Regions from separate parts of the Homo sapiens genome. Here region 2 is linked to region 1. Evidence: promoter capture Hi-C in human tissues and cell types (Jung and others, 2019). All regions are on one chromosome and are shown on one strand. The core of a region is centred on a gene start or on the middle of the fragment in contact, and the rest is flanking DNA. Distances in the headings are between cores, read along the strand shown.

Region 1 (7,546 bases), core at 604-3,103:
GGTGAAAGAAAGGGGAGGTGTGGAAAGTGGACGTCTCTGGGATCAAAAGTGAGATGACACAGAAAGGCTAAGACTTGGGTGAAAAACATAGCAGTGACTGCCAGGATGAGGGGGACCGTGTAGAGTCGTGAGGCTGAGGTGTAGCTCAAGAAACTAGCATGCAAAACACCTGGACTTCCTGGGCATTACAGAGACTTAGCCAATAGGAACAGAATGGATCCAAGCACGGTGTGGGGATACACAGGACATGAAGAAGGCAGGAGACTAATGCGGAGATGAAAGGCAACGCTGATTAAAAGGCACAGTAAGGAAGATGGGGTGAGGGTGGAGAAACAGGAAGGCAACAAGCAAGAAAGAAAATACTCTAAGTGCCAGGCACGGGAGTGAAGACACAGAAAGTCATCATGGTTTGTGTTCCAGCGTACGAAGACAGAAAGGCAAAAACTGTGATGCAGCGAGGTCTGGGAAAGGACTGAGCAACAGGTTGTGTTAATACGGTGGGGCCAAGTGTCTTTGGGTTGGGAGAAAGAGCCCAGTAGAAGGCTGGTAGAACACTCACAGAGAGAAACAAGAGGCCCAGGGACCTAAAAGCCAAACCCGAGGGGAAGAGAACAAGAGGGATCCAAAGACTCTGAAGGGAGTGATGATTGGAACCCCAAACGCAACCTGTGGGAAAACTATGCGCATGACAGCTGTGGGGAAACACGGAAGCGACAAATGCCAGCGCCAGGATCCAGGGAGCTCCTGGAGCAAAGAAGGGAAAGTGATGAGCAAAGAGTAGGCGAAGGATTTGGAAAGGTGATGAGGGTGGAGCTGGTGGGTTGCAAGCAAGAGGGAGAGCACAATTTGGAAAACGAAGAAGCAGGGTAGAAAAAGCTGGGGGAACTGCAAGGGGCCAGGGATCGAGAGCGCAGTCCAGGGCAAGGACCCTGAGGGTGATAACCCAGAGACTGGCAGAACCGGTGCGGGCGGAGGGGAAGCGAGGCAGGAGAGACGAAGGGAGAGGTGGACAACGATCTGTGGCAAATCGCGGGGTGCTGCTATTCGAGGAGCGGGAGGGTGGCTGCTTTAAGCGTGGGTGGAGGAAGACCAGAAAGGCCCCTGAGAGAAAAAGGGAAGAGAAAGGGAAGCTGGGGAGGTGACACGGAAGAGCGCAGGAGGGCGGTGAGGGGAGACGGGGGTTGGCAGAAAGACAAGTGTGCAGCTTGGAGTCAGGACGAGGTGGGTCCCAGGTCAGGACTCGGAAGCGGGATGTGCGGAGCCGGAGCCAGGAGCCGGATGACAGGGCAGCCGAGGCTTGCAGGATGGCAGCAGGGGCACGAGGAGAGCAGAAGAGGGAGGAGGCTCCGCAAGGTGCAAAGGGCCCAGCCAGAGAATTCGGGGAGCCCTCGGGGCTCCTTACCTGCTCCGTGTCCCTCTCGTTCAGCGTGGGTAGGGGGGTCCGAGCGCTGGACATGGCGCCGGTATCTCGGGGGAGGGAACCGAGAAGCTTGGAGGAAGGGAGGGAAGGGAAGGCGCGGAGCCCGGCCGGGCGGGGCTTCTCACAGCAGGAGCACCCGCCGCATGGGCCCCGGCCGGGGGTGCGGGGAGGCCGGGCAGCCGCTCACGCCAGCCCGGGGATGCGCCGCTCGGGCTAGGCCGCGCCGGCTCCGAGCGGCTCCGGACCGCACCCCCCCGACCCCCGGCTGGGCTGTGCCGCCTTTCGGCCGGGCCGCGCCGCTCCGCCTACTCTCTGCCGCCGCAGCCGGCCGCCTGCCTCGCTCCTCCCCTGCCCTCAGCGGCACTGCTCCGCGCCCGGCACACAGGCAGCCGCCGCCGGACCTGCTGCTCCCAACATGGCCGCCACCACCGCCGGCCCTCGGCTCTTTTCGCCGGCAGCAGCCGGAAACATCCGAAGCGGCTAGAAACGGGAGGTGGGGCGCGCCTTCTCCTCCCGGCCACAGACTACGGGTGAATTCCGGAAACAGCCGAAGAAGGTAAACCCCGGGGACGCGCTCTCCTCCTCGATTCCGAAGACGAAGCTTCGGCTCTGTTTACGGAAATCCACGAAGCGACCCCGGGTGCCTACCCCCCGCCCCCGTCCACGGCCATCCAGCCACGCCCACCGGCCTTTCCCCGCCCACTTCAAGGGGGCTTTCGGCAGTTTCCGGAAATACCCGAAGCTGCTCCGCGTGCTGAGCCGGCCACGCCCCCTCCCACAGCCCTGCCGAGGGCGGTCGTCGGCCATTTCCGGCAACACCCGAGGCCCTCCGAGCACCCGGTCGTTTCCCCGGGTGGCTCTCGGAGTCTGATTCGCTTCGTGTCTTTCCGTCAGTTTTCGGGCATTTTCAAACCTTGAACAGGAAGCGTGGGTCACCTGTCTGTGCTTGTGATTTGACTAAATACAAAACAAGATTGTTAGCCGTCCCTGTGATTGGCATCCTCTGGTTCTATAGCAGCTTCCTGTCTGCATTTCTGTCCATCTGTCGGTCAGCTCATAAAATTCATCTTCTTTTTATCATCTAGCCTATCAATATACCTGTCAAATGCAGCATCAGTCTATTGCCTGTCTGCCACCGTCTATCTTGGCTTCTGTGGATTCATCCGTGCATTCCCGCATCTAGTCCGCAGGGCTCGGCAAGGCCCCAGGCAGGCCCAGGGCAGCGTCCTCTGCACCGGATGCGGGAGCGTCCAGGGCCCTGCATTTCAGCCCCAGCTCTGCCAAGTGCCAATGCTGCGTGATCTTGGAAAAATCACATAACATCACTGAGTTTAGGCTCCTCTTTCCTTTGCCTTTGCTCCTGCGTTGACATTCAAAATGACATTTCTGAATTCCAGTTACCTTTTAAAATGCCTCTGCAAGATAAGGCATTTAAAGTTTCTTTTCTTTCCTCCTCTGGGCCTCATTTTCCCCATCAGTAAAGTGAAGCCATTGGATTCATGAACTCGGAGGTCCTTCTCAGCTTTGGAGAGCCCTTGACTAACAGGAAGTCTGTATGGCAACTGCAGTCCATTCCTCACTTCCCCTTACACTGCGTTACCAAGGACAGGGAGTATCCTGGGCTGATTTCCCCAGCGCCAAGCTGTCCTCACCCATAGTACCTGGAACACGTTGGAACCACACCCTCCCATCAGTGGCTTAAGGTGGGCAGGAGGCAGAGGCCCCGCAGGAGTCAGAAACCAGACTCAGGCAACAGGTTCCCAAAGGTACAGGAGCAGAGAGGCTCCAGGAGTTATTGGGAAAACTGCTGATTGGACCCCTGCTACTTGACCTCCAACTCCCAGCTACAGCATCTTGAGCCAGCCTTCATCCCATCAATCAGAGAAATAGGCATCTGAGCAGATGTAATTACCAGGGTATGAAAGTACTTCCTAAGGCAACAGGTATCACTACACTCTTAGTAAATCCTGGGACTTCAGCACTGCTCCCCATGCCCCATACCAGCTCTATTCAGGCACCCAACCGTTGAGGAAGAAGGTGAAGGCACACCCATGAAGGTGAGGGAAAGAGAGAAGAGGAGGACAGAGAACACCTCACTCCCCAACCCAAATTCGATCCTTGAGAATCATCTGCCCTCTGGTGGCCAAAGGGAGACACGTTGCTGATTCCTGTGCCTGGTATCACCTCTAATGCCAGGGTCTGGAAAGCAGGGAAAAGAGAGAGGAAGCAGTTGGTGGTTGGTGTTCCAGCAGTCTCTCCCTGGTCCACACTCTCGTCTAAATAGACTCCATCTTCTCCAAGCTTCTCACTCTAGCTCTAACCCCTGCCTCACCCCTGCCCTTTGACCTTCATCCCCAACCCCTACCCTACCTATCCTTTCTCTTCCTTGCTAGCTTTGCACAAGGCTGCTGAGCTTGTCTCCCCGCCTAGACTCCCTCCAACCTACTGCACCAGACATGTCAGAATAATCTTCCCAAAGTCCAGCTCCAATAACATCTCTGCTCTGCTAGAAAGCTATCACCAGCTCCCTCACTGGTTATAGGCAGGGCTGGCTTCTTGGGCCCACGACCCCATGCAGTCACACAGAGCCCTGTGCTCAGGTGGACCCTGAGCTTGGATTAATGCTCTGCTGTCACCATCTTGAAATTTTTTTTTTTAAGACTGAATCTCGCTCTATCTCCCAGGCTGGAGTGCAGTGGTGCGATCTCAGCTCACTGCAACCTCCACCTCCCAGGTTCAAGTGATTCTCATGCCTCAGCCTCCTGAATAGCTGGGATTATAGGTGCCCACCACCACACCCGGCTAATTTTTTGTGTTTTTAGTAAAGACAGGGTTTCACCATGTTGGCCAGTTTGGTCTAGAACTCCCAACCTCAAGTGATCCACCTGCCTCGGCCTCCCAAAGTGCTGGGATTACAGGCGTGAGCCACCACGCCCGGCCCATTATCTTGAAATTTTTGACCAAGGGGGCCATGCATTTCCATTTTGCACTGTGCCCCACAAATTATGTAGCTGGTCCTGGCTGTAGGAAAAGCCTTTAGCCTGCATTTAAAACTTTGCTCAATCTGGCCTCACATTGCCTTACAATAACCTCTCCAACTATCACTGATCACACTTCTCCCTAACTCCTACCCCGCTGCCAGTCTCTCTCACTTCCATGCCTTTGGTCAAGCTGATAGATGATTGCCCATCATCCACCTCAGCTTCCAGAACCACTTCAAGATCCAGTTCAAATCTCACCTACTCAAATCCATGAACCCTCCTAGTTCTCCTCAAAGATGAATTATTGCCACACATTTACCCCCTCTCTAAATCTGCAAATTCATTTATTCATTCAGCAAATCCCTACTGAGCACCTACTATGTGCAAGGCATTGTTTTAGGCTTTTAGGTAGATCAGTGAACAAGATAAAGATCTCTGCCTGCCAGGCGCGGTGGCTCATGCCTGTAATCCCAGCACTTTGGGAGACCAAGGTGAGGGGATCATGTGAGGTCAGGAGTTCGAGACCAGCCTGGCCAACATGGTGGAACCCCGTCTCTACTAAAAAAAGCACACAAAAAATTAGCCAGGCACGGTGGTGGGCGTCTGTAATCCCAGCTACTTGGGAGGTGGAGTCGGGAGAATCGCTTGAAACCAGGAGGCAGAGGTTGCAGTGAGCCGAGATCACCACGCCACTGCACTCCAGCTTGGGCAACAAGAGAGAAACTCTGTCTCAAAACAAAACAAAACAAAACAAAAAAAAAACAACTCTGCCCTTGGGGAGCTTACTTTTCATTTTGAGGAAGACATACAACAAACAAAAGAGTCAGTATTAAGTGATATCAGAAAAAAACAGAGCCAGTTAAGCCAGGATTACAGGGGTGAGAGGGTGGAAGACAAGCTACAGTACTGAGGGGGTTCATGAGCCCTCACTGAGAAGGTGACACTTGAGTAAAATCTTGAAGGAGACCGGGCGTGGTGACTCACACCTGTAATCGCAGCACTTTGGGAGGCTAAGAAAAAAAAAAGACTTGAAGGAGGTGAAGGCATGAGCTCTGCAGACATCTAGGGGAAGAGGAACCCAGCCAGAGGAGCATACCTGGCCTGTTTGAAGAGCAAGGGGCCAATGAGCCTGGAGCAGAGTGAGTGAGGAGGTAGGTGTGTGGCGACGGGAACCAGGCCTGGTGGGCTACCGTTGTGGTTTTCCCTGGGAGTGGGATGAGTTGCCGCCGGAGTAACATGATCTAACTGGCTGCTGGGCTGAGAACAGAGTGAAAGGGCATGACAGAAGCAGACCCGGGGCACTAGCAAGGAGGCTTTTACAACAATTCAAGGGAGAGATGCCAGTGGCTTGGGGCCAGGCAGCAGCAGTGGAAGTAGTGAGAAGTGATCAGATTTGGGACATATTTGAAAGGTACAGCCAACAGGCTTTCGGATGGGTTGGGGTTATGAAAGAGGGGAGTTAAAGACGATTGCAGGCTTTCCCGCCTGAACAACTGAAAACAAAACACACACAGAGAGTAAAACTGCCGGGAGGTGTTGGCATTCAGCGGGCCCTTCGGGGCGACAGACTTTCCATCCTAGAACCATGACCTGATTTGTCCACCACCTCGCCAGAGAAGGCCCTGGTACTGGTGAACGCTGCTGTGACTCAGTTGAAGCCTTGATTGGCCACATTTCAGTACTACGCCGAGGTGGAGTTGGTTCCTCCAAACCCTGCTGAGATCCCTAGAGTTATTCAGGGCCTGGAAAAAAAAGTCAATAGCGCTCAAACTGGTAGCTTCAAACAGCTCACAGTCAAGGAAGCTGTGTTGAATGTTTCAGAGGTCACTGGGGTGTGGATGTGGTTTTATGTCACAGAGATCATAGGTGAGTGTGGCATCACTGGCTACAATGTTTGAAGATCCATCTTTAACATTTGATTTATATTTGATTTATGATTTGACTGTTCTTAGACCATATGTGATCAGACTACTATCTGAATAAAATGTGTCAAAAATTTTAAATTTAAAAACATTTCAAATTTTAAATTTATTTATTTACGTATTTATATATTTATTTTTTTGAGATGGAGTCTCCCTCTGTCTCCAGGCTGGAGTGCAGTGGTGCAATCTTAGCTCACTGCAACCTCCACCTCCAGGATTCAAGAGATTCTTCTGCCTCAGCCTCCTGAGTAGCTGGGACCACAGGCGTGCGCCACCACGCCTGGCCAATTTTTGTATTTTTAGTAGAGACGGGGTTTAATCATATTGGCCAGGCTGGTCTCAAACTCCTGACCTCATGATCTGCCCACCTCGGCCTCCCAAAGTGCTGGGATTACAGGCGTGAGCCATGGCACCTAGCCCTTTTCTTAAAAAAATTAAGGCCTGACCCGGCATGGTGACTCATGCCTATAATCTCTGCACTTTGAGAGGCTGAGGTGGGTGAATGAATTGCTTGAGCTAAAGAGTTCGAGAGCAGTCTGGGCAACATGGCAAACCCCCGTCTCTACAAAAAATACAAAAAATTTGCCAGTAGTCCCAGGTACTCAGGAGGCTGAGGTAGGAGGATTATACCTGAGCCTGGGAGGTCGAGGCTGCAGTGAGCTATGATCACACCACTGCACTCCAGCCTGGGCAACAGAGTGAGACCCTGTCTCTAAATATTAATAAATAAATAAAATAAAAGCCAGGTGTGATGGCTCACGCCTGTAATCCCAGCACTTTGGGAGGCCAAATTTGGTGGGGGGCATCCCTTGAGTCCAGGAGTTTGAGACCAGCCTGGGCAACATAGGGAGACCCCTGTTAGCTAGGCATGGTGGCACAACTGTAGTCCCAGCTACTTGGGAGGCTGAGGTGGGAGGATCACTTGAACCCAGGAGGTTGAGGTTGCAGTGAGCTATGATTGCACTACTGCACTCTAGCCTGGGCAACAGAGTAAGACCCCCTTTTCCCTTTTGTTTCTTTTTTCTTATTTTCTTTTTCCTTTTCTTTTCTTTTTAGATGGAGTCTTGCTCTTTCGCCCAGGCTGGAGTGCAGTGGCACCATCTCCACTCACTGCAACCTCTGCCTCTTGGGTTCAGGTGATTCTCCTGCCTCAGCCTCCCAAGCTGGCATTACAGGCGCCTGCCACCATGCCCAGCTAAGTTTTGTATTTTTAGTAGAGATGG
Region 2 (7,884 bases), core at 5,350-7,849, 350 kb after region 1:
AAACACCCAGACCATAGCACCATTTTTATAAAGTTTCAGAGAAGCAAAACAAAGTGATGTATTAGGGATACAAAGAAGCGATTTAAAAAACTATTTTAAAAAGTGAGGGTATGACAGACACAAAGGTCAGGATAGACGTTGGGCGTGCAGAGGGAGAAGGGATAAGGAAGGAATCCATAGGTGGGGAGCATCTGTACTAGGAATGTTCCATTTCTTACGTAGGATGGTTTTGTCATGGGTAGTAATTACATTATGTTTCCTAACTGTGTGCGAGAGAGAAGGAAAGAGAAAATCAGTTGGGGAAGACTCAATGCAGAAGCGGCCTGCCTGAAAAGTCACAGCAACAGGCAAAAATAAAACAACCTGGTAAAAAACTCAGGCTCCACCTGCACACAGATAAGCAGACAGGGTCCAGCACAGAAGCCTTTTGTTCTTTGTATAATTAGGGAGCTCCCAGGAAAGTTTTCTCCCCTTTTCAGGCATATACATGGTGGGAACTTTCACAGGGAGGAGGGGGGCTTACCTAAAACAAACCCACAGTTATGCAAACAAAAAAGGCGGTGCTTTGTGCTTGCATAGATACATAACCACAGCTGCGTAAGACAGCTTTACTGATAAGAGAAGTTACTCAAACTACTACAGAGATAAGAGATTTTCTTGCAAAAGCTTTTGAATTCAGCTGTAACAGGGCAATCCACTTGCATACTCAGCTCACTGTGGAGAGCTTTCTTCTTTCGCTTATTAAACTTTCGCTCCCACCTCACCTTATGTCCCGTTCCTTAATTTTCTTGGAGTAGGACAAAGAATCCCGGGTATCAGTCCAGACAAGGAGAAACTGCTACATTAAGGTACATTGGCAAGACTGCAACATGTGTATTCCATGTACTTTTTCATAAGTTATCTATTACGTAAGTGTAGATTTCATTTTCTATATATTTTTAAAAATAAAACAACTCTGAATTGTTCAAGATTTTAACCCCTGATTGTGCCTCCCAAGGCTTCCTAATCTGGTCTCCATTTACCCCTCCAAGTCACGCCTCTGTTCCAAACCGTTCAGCTTCTCCAGCCACTTTAGGCACCACCTCTGAGCCTTTGCTGTTTCCATGACCTTCCCCAAAACGAATAACCTCCTTCGCCCCTCTCCGCCTAAAAGACCCACAGATTCCCGGGCCTCTAAGCGCCCCGTTTCGTCCCATTCTGTTCTCGGACGCGCTCACTGCGCCCGCGCCACTGTCGCCACCCCGCGCGCCTCTGCCGTTTGCAGCCCGCGGCGCTTTCCCCTCCGCGGTTCCTCCCCGAGCCGCCCCCAGTGCCCAAGCTTCCGCGGCTCCGCCGACCAGGGGCCGCGCCGACTGGGAACTCGCCAGGGGCGTAGTCCCCTGCAAGGCCTGGGGGCCGGCGAGGCCGCAGAGGCGGGATGGGCCTGAGCCCGGGCGCCGAGGGGGAGTACGCGCTCCGCCTCCCTAGGATTCCCCCACCCCTCCCCAAACCCGCCTCGCGAACCGCCAGTACCGGGCCCAAGGACCAGCCGCCTGCGCTCAGACGTTCAGCTGTGCCCCACTCAGGTCAGCCCCAAGAATGCGGCTGAAGGACAATCCGCAATTGTCCTTCAGGTCCCAGCGGGCGGTTACCCTCAAAGCTCCTTTTCTTAAGACATTTGGCGATTGTGTTGTCTGTTAGCCATCATGAGCGAGTATTTCAGAACGACCGCTTGTTATAAAGCTAATCAAAGCGAGCCAGGCAGCCACTCCCTCCTTCCCGCTATATCTCATATGGAAGTGAGGCAGTGGTGGCAGCTCCGGAGGGTGGTGTTAAGACCGGCTCTGGCTCGGCAGAGGTTCCTCCCATCGGGCTTAGGATAGAGGCGAGGCGCCCTTCTTCATCCTCTCCCCGATTCCGTTCCCAGGAATCCCAAAGTCTCTCTTTGGCAGAGGAACTGAACCCGCTCCAGCACCTAGTTCCACAACCCTCTCCATTCATCCCAAGATTTTCTGAGGCCTAACCAGGGGCCAGGCACGATGCTAGACTAGAGCTCTGAGCCCACTCTCCGTAGCGGTCAAGGTGCTTGCTCGAACTCTCCTTTCACAGGTCTAAATAGCATTTCCCCCCTTGAATTAGAAGAATCCGTGGGATTCGCAGCGTTGGTCCAGCTCCCAGCCAAGCAGCCTCCGCCGGGCACATTAGAACAGGGCAGAAGCATCCAGCAAGGGTAAGAAGATTGTAAGGTTGGGGTCTTTGGGTGGAAGAAATCTTTTGGAGAATTGACTTGGAATGCAGTTCTGTAAAACAAACCCAGAGGTGGTTTTTGTGTGAACCAGCCAGCCGGTACCCAGCAAGGGGAAGGCTGGTGTGATCCTGGGTGATAACAGATGGTACTGGGCTTGGGACCTGCTGGCCACAGGCATGCGTTGCAGCTGTTTCTAGCCACAAGGCCATTCTCTAGACCCCAGAGAAATGAATGGCTTTAGCAGGAGGCTTACAGTATTGTCCTTGGTCTCACTAATCAGTGAACAATGAGTCGGCCTTTGGCAGATTTCCTGAATTCACTTTCATTAACAACATGATGATTGCTGCTTTAAAAAATTCCGAGGGGCTGAAATTTTGGAGAGGAGCTCTACTGAAAATGAGGGGTGTCCCCTCTGCCCCACACACTATTTTTTTCTGGAGAAGAGTTTAAAGCATGGGAAAAGGTAAAGAAAAAGTCATTTCTGAGTTGGTGGTATACCAGATGTTTACATGTGCTGTGTCCTTTCACCTTCTTGACCACTGTGAGACACATTTTCATCTCTATTTTTAAAGATAATCAAGCTGAGAGTCAGACATTAATTTACTAGCTCAAGGTGGGACAGCAATCATGAAAGCTAGGATTCAAACCTAGATCTTTTGGCTTCGAAGTATTTTACTCTACTATACTACCTTAATTTAATATGCTTGAAAGCATATTCTTGCCTTTCATTTCTGTCCTCTCCTGTAACATTTTGTTTCAAGGGAGAAATATACTGATTTCATTCATATTACTTGCAGTTGCAGTGTTGTGGCTTATCAAGCTTTCTTAGAAATCTGGGGCTAATTATTGGAAGAAAGAGTTCAAGGGGTTTGCCTCTGGGCAGTAGGGCTGGGATGAAAAGGGAAAGGAGGAAGGCTCCTTGCATTTCATTATAAATTCTTATGTACTGGAAACCATGTGCAAGTATCACTTTGATAAACATTAAAAAGACATTATTAGCAAATTAAAAAATAAAAACCCCCAAAACTGCTTCTTGCTATCATTAGCATTTGAACAATTGTCAGAAAACCAGCAAACAGCAATTCTTTTGTATGAAAGCTAATGGGTTCACAGAAACAAACGGGGGGAAATGTTCCCTACAGTCTCCAAACCAAAAGCCATCTTAAAAATCACAAATCTGTAATACAGATTTTCCAATAATTATGAAATAGTGATATTTGTTAACTTTGTGATTGCAAAATCATTTAGGGAGAAGGCTGTAGTTAGCTTGGAGACCACACCCAGCCAGAAAGCAGACTGGAGTTCAATTCCAAAGCCTGAGAATGAAGGCAAGTTAATAAAGCAAGCAGCTGAGGTAGGTGTAACAAGAATTCTCAAAGTGACTATCTTTAACCTCCTGGCAACTTCTCTACATATTGTATTTTACTTTGTTTCTAGGGGTGTCCAATCTTTAGGCTTCCCTGGGCCACACTGGAAGAAGAAACGTCTTGGGCCACACATAAAATACACTAACACTGACGATAGCTGTTGAGCTTAAAAAAAAAAAAAACCCACAAAAAAGTCTCATAATGTTTTAATAAAGTTTACAAATTTGTGTTGGGCCACATTCAAAGCTGTCCTGGGCTGTATGTGGCCTGTGGGCTGCGGGTTGGACAAACTTGGTTTAGATGGTCTAATAAATATCCTGATTTGGGATGTTGGTTATGCTTTGTTTTAAAGCAGTTTTATTGAGGTGTAATTGACATATAGTAAACTCCACATATCTAAAATATACAATTTGATAAATTTGGCATATATATATGCCAGTGAAGTGTATAGTTTGATACATTTTGACATCTATATATATATCCTGTCAAATCTTCACCACAATCAAGATAATGAATAATCTCTGTCATTTACAAAAGTTTCTTTGTGCCTTTTGTAATCCCTCTCTCTTCCCATACCACTCCCATCCCCAGGCAACAACTGATATGCTTTTTGTCACCATAGATGTGTTCACATTTTTAGAGATTTATATGAAATCATATTGTATGTGCACTTCTTTGTCTGTCTCCTTCATATAACTATATATATTTTTTTCGAGATGGAGTCTCGCTCTGTCGCCCAGGCTGGAGTGCAGTGGCGTGATCTTGGCTCACTGCAAGCTCTGCCTCTTGGGCTCACGCCATTCTCCTGCCTCAGCCTCCCGAGTAGCTGGGACTAGAGGCACCTGCCACCATGCCCGGCTAATTTTTTGTATTTTTGGTAGAGACGGGGTTTCACTGTGTTAGCCAGGATGGTCTCGATCTCCCGACCTCATGATCCTCCCGCCTCGGCTTCCCAAAGTGTTGGGATTACAGGCATGAGCCACTGCAGCCAGCCCATATAACTATTTTGACTGACATCCATGTTGTTGCTTTTTATCAACAGTTCATTCCTTTTTATTACTGAGCAGTATTTCATTGTATGGATATACCACTCTTGTTTATGTGTTCACCTGTTGATTGAGCATTTGAGTTGTTACTAGTTTTTGACTATCACAAATCTGCTTGAACATTTATGTACGAGTCTTTGTGCAGACTGTATATTTTTTCCTCTTGGGTGAATATGTAGGAATGAAATGGCTAGGTCATGTGGTAGATGTATATTTAATTTACTGTTTTCCTTAACATTTTTTTTTTCTTTTTTGGGGCTTTCCAAGCCTGCCAGACAAATTCTAAAAGAGCTCTAACCTTAACTTACTGTTTTCCACAGTGGTTGTATCATTTTACATTCCTACCAGCAGTTTATAAGAGTTCCAGTTCATCAGCATTTGGCATGGTCAAAATCTTCTAAATTTTAGCTATTTTAATAGATGTGTAGGTATCTCATTGTGGTTTTCATTTGCATTTTCCTAATGACTAATAATGTTGAACGTCTTTTCATGCGTATATTTGCCATCCATATATATAATCTTTGGTGAAGTGTTCAAATCTTTTGCCCATTTTTTCCTATTGGTTTGTATGTTTTGAGAGTTCTTCAGAAGTTCTGTATACAAGTACGTCATCAGATATATACTTTATAATATTTTCTCTCCATCTGTGGCTTGTCTCTTCAGAACAGGTTCTTAAATTTTGATGAAGTCCAATGTGTCAGCTTTTCCTTTTATAAAACGGAAATGTAATGAAATACTGCTCAGTAATAAAAAGGAATGAACTGTTGATAAAAAGCAACAACACGGATGTCACTCAAAATAGTTATATGAAGGAGACCGCCAAAGAAGTGGACATACAACATGATTTCATATAAATCTCTATGAATAGTGCCTTTGGTGGTGTATCTAAGAGACCTTTGCCTAATCCAGTGTCACAAAGATTTTCTCCTGTTTTCTTCTAGGTATTTTATAGTTTTGTTTTTTACATTTACATATTTGATACATTTTTATCTGTATTTTTATTTCAATAGTTTTGGGGGAACAGGTGGTGTTTGGTTGCATGCAAAAGTTCCTTCGTGGTGATTTCTGAGATTTTAGTGCATCCATCACCTGAGCAGTGTACACTATACTCAATGTGTAGTCTTTTATCCCTCACCCCACTCCCACCCTTCCCTTCTGAGTCCCTAAAGTTGATTACATCATTCTTATGCCTTTGTGCCCTCATAGCTAGCCCCCACTTATAAGTGAGAGCATATGATTTTTTTGTTTTCCATTCCTGAGTTACTTCACTTAGAATAATGGTCTCCAGCTCTATCCAGGTTGCTGTGAATGTCATTGTTTCATTCCTTTTTACGGCTGAGTAGTATTCCGTGGTGTGTGTGTATGTGTGTGTGTGTGCATATATATATATACCACATTTTCTTTGTCCACTCATTGGTTGATGGTCATTTAGGCTGGTTCCATATTTTTGCAGTTGTGAATTGTGCTGCTATAAACATGCATGTGCAAGTGCCTTTTTCATACAATGACTTCTTTTCCTCTGGTTAGATACCCAGTAGTGGGATTGCTGGATCAAATTGTTGTGCTACTTCTAGTTCTTTAAGGAGTCTCCATGGTGTTTTCCATAGTGATTGTATCAGTTTACATCCCCACCAGCAGTGTAAAAGTGTTCCCTTTTCACCACATCTATGCCAACACATATTATTTTTTTTATTTTTAAGTTATGGCCATTTTGGAGGAGTAAGGTGGTATTATTGCATCGTGGTTTTGATTTGCATTTCTCTGATAATTAGTGACGTTGAGCAGTTTTTTAATATGTTTGTTGGCCATTTGTATATCTTCTTTTGAGAATTGCCTGTTCATGTCCTTTGCCCACTTTTTGATGGGATTGTTTTTTTCCTTGCTGATTTATTTGCTTGATTTCCTTGCAGATTTTGGATATTAGTCCTTTGTTGAATGCATAGTTTGTACAAATTCTCTCCCACTCTGTGGGTTGTCCGTTTACTCTGCTTATTGTTTCTTTTGCTGTGCAGAAGCTTTTTGGTTTAATTAGGTCCCATCTATTTATCTTTGTTTATGTTGCATTTGCTTTTGGGTTCTTGATCATGAACTCTTTTCCTAAGCCAATGTCTAGAAGGGTTTTTCTGATGTTATCTTCTAGAATTTTTATGGTTTCATATCTTAGATTTAAATCTTTGATGCATCTTGAGTTGATTTTTGTAGAAGGTGAGAGTTGAGGATCCAGCTTTATTCTTCTACATGTGGCTTGCCAATTATCCCAGCATTTTTTGTTGAATAGGATGTCCTTTTCTACTTTATGTTTTTGTTTGCTTTGTTGAAGACAGTTGGCTGTATTTTGTTTTATTTCTGGGTTCCCTATTCTGTTACATTGGTCTACATGCCTGTTTTTATACCAGTACCATGCTGTTTTGGTAACTATAGCCTTGCAGTATAGTTCAAAGTCAGGTAATGTGATGCCTCAAGATTTGTTCTTTTTGCTTAGTCTTGCTTTGGCTATGTGGGCTCTTTTTTGGTTCCATACTAATTTTAGGATTGTTTCATTCTAGTTCTGTGAATAGGTATTTTGATGGGAATTACACTAAATTTGTAGATTGCTTTTGGCAGTATGATCATTTTCACAATATTGATTCTACCCATCCATGAGCATGAGATGTGTTTCCATTTGTTTGTGTCATCTGTGATTTCTTTCAGCAGTGTTTTGTTTTCCTTGTAGAGATCTTTCATGTCTTTGGTTAGGTATATTCCTAAGTATTTTTTTTTTTTTACAGCTGTTTTAGAAGGGGTTGAGTTCTTGATTTGATTCTCAGCTTGGTCATTGTTGGTGTACAGCAGGGCTACTGATTTGTGTACAATAATTTTGTATCCTGAAACTTTGCTAAATTGATTTACCAGTTCTAGGACTTTTTGGATTAGGCTTTAGGGTTTTCCAGGTCTATGATCATATCAGCAAACAGCAACAGTTTGACTTCCTTTTTACTGATTTGGATGCCCTTTATTTCTTTCTCTTGTCTGATTGCTCTGGCTAGGACTTCTAGCACTATGTCGAATAAATGTGGTGAAAGTGGGCATCCTCGTCTTTTTCCAGTTATCTGGGGGAATGCTTTCAACTTTTCCCCAATCACTATAATGTTGGCTGTGGGTTTGTCGTAGATGGCTTTTATTGCCTTGAGGTTTGTCCCTTTTATGCTGATTTTGTTGAGGTTTTTAATCATAAAGGGATGCTGGATCTTGTCAAATGCTATTT

What was found. The method cuts DNA at HindIII sites, captures the fragments that hold promoters and counts their contacts. A contact is called where the count stands out against the background at its distance.
Region 2: a fragment that was not itself captured here is called in contact with the fragment with the promoter of MARK2 in region 1 in 2 of the 25 tissues and cell types used here (dorsolateral prefrontal cortex and hippocampus).

Annotation. Positions count from the first base shown.
Region 1 is chr11:63,833,417-63,840,962 of GRCh38, reverse strand. MARK2 (microtubule affinity regulating kinase 2) reads right to left here and starts at 1,853. Exons shown (of 19, transcript NM_001039469.3): 1 at 1,403-1,853. The coding sequence starts at 1,456. It also overlaps the pseudogene ATP5MGP1. RefSeq lists a silencer at 1,519-1,758 and enhancers at 1,769-1,918, 2,179-3,167. The HindIII fragment of the contact is 8,965 bases long and covers 1,756-7,546 here.
Region 2 is chr11:63,484,568-63,492,451 of GRCh38, reverse strand. It overlaps PLAAT5 (phospholipase A and acyltransferase 5), which reads left to right and starts at 1,285. Exons shown (of 6, transcript NM_001146729.2): 1 at 1,285-1,565; 2 at 2,119-2,209; 3 at 3,476-3,581. The coding sequence starts at 1,418. It also overlaps the pseudogene LOC124902822. The HindIII fragment of the contact is 8,832 bases long and covers 2,184-7,884 here.